2 separate regions of the Homo sapiens genome follow, and region 1 is linked to region 2. The links are contacts of gene promoters, found by promoter capture Hi-C in human tissues and cell types (Jung and others, 2019). All regions are on one chromosome and are shown on one strand. The core of a region is centred on a gene start or on the middle of the fragment in contact, and the rest is flanking DNA. Distances in the headings are between cores, read along the strand shown. Region 1 has its middle 260 kb from the start of HGF. Region 2 holds the start of HGF (hepatocyte growth factor).

Region 1 (2,700 bases), core at 60-2,559, 260 kb before region 2:
AGATGTGTGGAAATGCCTGGATGTCTAGGCAAAAGTTTGCTGCAGAGGCAGGGCCCTCATGGAGAACCTCTGCTAGGGCAGTGCAGAAGGGAAATGTGGGGTCAGAGCCCTCACACAGAGTGTCTGCTGGGGCACTGCCTAGTGGAGCTGTGAGAAGAGGGCCACCATCCTCCAGACCCCAGAATGTTAGATCCACAGACAGCTTGCACCGTGCACCTGGAAAAGGCACAGACACTTAATACCAGCCCACAAAAACAGCCACGAGGGAGGCTGTACCCTGCAAAATCACAGGGGTGGAGCTGCCAAAGACCATGAGAACCCATCTCTTGGATCAGTGTGACTTGGATGTGAGACCTGGAGTCAAAGGAGATCATTTTAAAGCTTTAAAATTTGACTGCCCCGCTGGATTTCAGACTTGGATAGGCCCTTTAACCCCTTTGTTTTGGCCAATTTCTCCCATGTGGAATGGCTGTATTTACCCAATACCTGTACCCCCATTATATCTAGGAAGTAACTAGCTTGCTTTTGATTTTACAGGCTCGTAGGCGGAAAGGGACTTGCTTTGTCTCAGATGAGACTTTGGACTATGAAATTTTGGGTTAATGCTGAAATGAGCTAAGACTTTAGGGGACAGTTGGGAAGGCATGATTGGTTTTAAAATGTGAGGAGATGAGATTTGGTGGGTCCAGGGGCGGAATGATATGGTTTGGCTCTGTTCCCACCCAAATCTCAACTTGAATTGTATCTCCCAGAATTTCCACTTGTTGGGGGAGGAACCCAGGGGGAGGTAATTGAATCATGGGGGCTGGTCTTTCCTGTGCTATTCTCGTGATAGTGAATAAGTCTCACCAGATCTGATGGGTTTATCAGGGGCTTCCACTTTTGCTTCTTCCTCATTTTCTCTTGCTGCCAACACGTAAGAAGTGCTTTTCACCTCCCGCCATGATTCTGAGACCTCCACAGCCATGTGGAACTGTAAGTCCAATTAAACCTCTTTTTCTTCCCAGTCACGGGTATGTCTTTATCAGCAGCGTGAAAACAGACTAATACATGTACCCAAATATAAATAATGGCTAGTCAACGCTGCATTTAACAAATGTTTAGAAATATTAGTTTTTTAAAGGCTATCGTAAAATATATAGGTGTGTTTGTGTGTTTACTCACTCTCAAGCAAATGTAAGTGATAACCTATCTGCATATCATTTTCCCTTCTTACACAATGAATTAGTTGAAACACAGAATTTCTAAGGTTACTTCTGGTTTGGTTACACTTTTTGCACATATGTCTCCCTGCAGAGATGTGCGTATTATATTAGTACACATATAAATATAAAAGCTGATACTGGTTATGGAGAAAAGATGGACCATTTGCTACAGTCTTTGGTAATAAATTCATAAGTCACAGGTTGGTAATCATTTCAAGACAGTATTAATTGGTTTGCCTCTTTTAGCAAGCCTAATGTAGATTACTAAAGGAAGTATATAGATTAGAATACCCCTTAGCTCAACTACAAATTTTAGAATCCTTTCACATCTTGTTGCAAAATTTGTTTATCTATAATGTTTTATTACAATGTCTTCTGCTTTGCTAGATTTTGCTTTACTAATTGGGAAACTGAATGATGGAAATCCATGTGTTAACATAAATTAGGAACTTTTTTTTCCTCGATGATACAGGCTAAATATGATCTCTCCCAAAGGAGCAAGATCTATTATAGCAGAGAAAATTGACTCAAAATTAAAGAGATGAGGTTCATGTTGAGCCAGAAATGAAAAACAACATTTTTTAACTGTTTGAAATTCTACGATAATACCTTACAATATCACTGACAATATAACTTAGTCTTAGGCAATATTTACCTGACTTATCAAACAATTTTAATATATATTTGTGGAATATGAAAGAAAGTTATATTGTCATATGCCATGGAGTGGGGAGCAGGACTCAGAAGCATTTTGCTGATGACCAGGAGAATATTCATGATTTAAATAATAAATTATAGAGTTTAACTATATAAAATGTATGACTAAAAGCTCTAAAGCAGATAACACAGTTTTAGTGAAGCACTAAATAAGTGAGAATATTTTATCTGTGAGGGTAATTTGAGGAGCACTTTACCATATTAAATACTAATAGTTTTACAAAGTTCATGGGCATCTCAGATTATTTTCCTTTCAATTATTTTACAACTACTTTTTATGATACCTAACACATACACAAAAGTATAAAAATATTACAATAATCCACCAGATAGCCATCATACAATACCAATAGTTGTCAATGTATACTGTTTTATTTAATCTTTATTCTTTCTTACTCCTCTCCACCCCAAATTATTTTAATCCAAAGGTTAGACATCCTATCCTTTCATCCGTAAGAAGTTCTTAATTCTAAAGTATTCAATTTTCTAATTTTTTTTCTTATTCTAGTTTTGTGTTGTCTTATTTATGAAATCTTTCCCTATTACAAAATTAATAAGGTAGTCTCTTAAATTCTTTCTAAAGTATAGTTATTTTATTTATTATTGCCATTTTATGTCTATAATGCATTTAGACTTGATTTATAGGGGATTGTTTCTACTATGTCTATATGCATATCAGTTGCCCAGTATAATTTCTTGAAACTCTCATCTTTTTACCATTGCTCTGTAGTTTCATTTTGACAAACATCATATGACCCCATGAACATTTACAAAATTG
Region 2 (2,700 bases), core at 49-2,548:
ACTTCTTCAGAAATCTTACCTAAATGCTTTCAGAGTGACCCTTTCCAAACAGTGTCATTTTCCAAACGGGCCACTTCACAAAATAAAAGAAAACCAGGTGGGTTGAATGATTTTCCTTTGCATTTAGAAAATTCTTGAGTTTTTTAACCCTTGTACCATATCAAAAACTAGATCAAAGGTCTGATAAATGTCATATTTACCATCTCAAAAGATACAGCCAGTTCTCTTTTTTATATTGTAAAAAGGCCATGTCTCCATCTGGGCATTTGTTCCCACTCTTTTATTCCCCTGCGCCTACCCTTGATATTCACTGCCTTCTCCCGTTGGCACCTCAGCCTCTACAATGATACAACAAAATACAGATGTTTCCTCTTGCCCTGATAACAAGAGAAACTTCCCAGAGCAGCAAACGAGATCTCTAAATCTCCAAGCAATATGAACTTTCAAGCAACTCCTCCCCAAACGGCAAATCCAAGGGAGAAAGTGGGAGACAGAGATGGGCAGTTCTGCAGCTTTAATCAAAGTCTCCGTGCACTGCAGTTTCAAAGGGCAGGCATCCGTACCCAGAAAGAATAAGATCTTTAAAAAGAGGCTTTCTCTTTCATTTTTATGATATGCAAATACTCAGAGTTTATTCTGCCTCCTCAAAATGAAAACCTGTACAAAGTCGTAATTTGGCTCCAAATGTTGACTAGGTGATGTGGAGTAGTGCATTATCATGAAAAATTGTTCTCTGGAAAAGGATGACTTCCTGCCGGACTGACCATCACTCTTGCCTCTTCAGACCAGACCCTCTCTTTAGCTTTAAACTTGTCCAAAGCAGCCAAGTTCAGCCAGTATTAGCACTTCCTCCCTATCTCATAATCCACAACTATTAGGCTAAGTGGGACGGGGCTTGGGTTGGAGGTGGAGGGGAGTTGAGGGAAAGTTAATTATCATTTTAAATGCTATTCAAACAACAACAAAAAAGAATGTCAAAAAAAGCATAATGAGAGCTTTTAGAAACCTATACTACATACTGAGTTCAGAAAGGATGCTGGGAATAGGGTAAAAAGAGGGTGTTAAAAGGAATAGGGAAGGTTAGCAGGAGAGTTAAATACTAATACTAATAATGAAGAAGAAGAAGGGAACTAACCTGCATAGGGGATGGCGATGGGGAGCAGGAGGAGATGCAGGAGGACATGCTGCAGCAGCAGGGCTGGCAGGAGTTTGGTCACCCACATGGTGCTGCTGGACGGGCTGGCGGATCCCTCTGGAGGAGATGCCTGGGTGAAAGAATCCTGTTCGGAGTCAGTGCCTAAAAGAGCCAGTCGGCTCTGAGCTGCTTTTTATTGCGATGAGCTAAGTTTGTTGTGTGATTAACTGGAAAGATCTAGGTCTGAACTCCCTCTTACGGTAAGAAACTGTTTAACAACAGCCCTTTACTCTCTTCCAGCCCCCTCCTTTCCTCACTCGCCCCCCCTTCAACAGCACCAAACAGATCCCTGCAACCCCCCCCATTCCCCGCCTCCCCCCAACCCCACGCTTAGGAAAGAAACTTACAAAGAAAAGGTCACCTGGCCTGAGGCCAGCTTCAATTTGGAAGCTGGAGCTCCAGATCCCAGTGGCTCCTATCCGAGTAAGGAAGGGAGGAGCAAGGCTGAGCCCAATGGCTAAATCAAGGCACAGGCAGGGGACCAATTCGCTCAATTTAAACAGGAAAATACATGTGTTTATATATCTATTTGGGAAAAGAGGAAGGGGAAGCAGCATAAGAAGAAAGCGAAGAGCTGTCTTTCAGCCAAATGTGCCCCAGCTCCTAATCTGTCTAGTTTTCCTGCTAGAGCAACTGAGGGATTCAAAACACTGACACAGGTTCTCTAGGGGTTTAGAGACCTGGGAGAGGTGGGAGCGGGGCCAGGGAGGAGAGCCCAGGCACGTCCAGCCCAGGTAGAAAGAGGTTAGTTAAGAAAAGGGTGTGGTATTGTGGGGCCAAAATAAGCAAGCAAAACAAAAGCACGCAGATTGTCAGATGAAAAAATTGCCCCTGCCCCATGGGCTCAGAGCAGGCAGCTTTTTTTTTTTTTTTTTTTTTTTTTTTTTTTCACAAACTGCCAAACTCACGAAATACCACACATTTACCCAAAGTATACAAAATAAACTTGTCTGATCTGACTTTTTAAGAGAAAGTCCAAGAAACAGTCATTGTCCATAGCCTGTCCCTGACAGGTAAATATGCCATGTGGACTTGTACAGGCACACACGTGCACACAACACATTCACACATGTTGGTGTGTATGTACGTATACACTGGTTAGGACTGACTTTCACCGGAAATCCCTCAAGCTGTTTGAATTCGTGAGTACTGAATATGCCTCTCTTTTCCAGCTTCATCTGCCTGTACACGACAGCCAGCTTCCCAAAGTGTAAGTGGAAAGATGAGGAGCTTGTATGGGCATGGGGGGACTCCTAGGTATCAAATCCTTGTGAGATCATTGCCCAGACCCCTCACTTGATTCAGAGAATTTGTCTTTGCACCCAGAGGTGGATGCTCTGGTAACTTTAAGCAAGAGCCTGCTTTATTTCTAATGGATGCTGAGGGATACTTGCCCCTGTATCTCTCTGAGATGGATATTAGTAGAGAACAGTGCCCCTGTCCACAGAGGAAAAGAAAGCAGGCCAAATGTGGGAATGACTAGAGCGGTGGGTAGCTGTACAGAA

The links. Contacts are between HindIII fragments. The study calls those that stand out against the background at their distance.
Region 1: a fragment that was not itself captured here is called in contact with the fragment with the promoter of HGF in region 2 in 1 of the 25 tissues and cell types used here (mesenchymal stem cells).

Annotation. Positions count from the first base shown.
Region 1 is chr7:81,510,468-81,513,167 of GRCh38, forward strand. No RefSeq gene overlaps it. Among named protein-coding and RNA genes, the nearest start is that of HGF, 260 kb to the right of the region's middle. The HindIII fragment of the contact is 4,651 bases long and covers 1-2,700 here.
Region 2 is chr7:81,768,749-81,771,448 of GRCh38, forward strand. HGF (hepatocyte growth factor) reads right to left here and starts at 1,299. Exons shown (of 18, transcript NM_000601.6): 1 at 1,136-1,299. The coding sequence starts at 1,223. The HindIII fragment of the contact is 8,838 bases long and covers 1-2,700 here.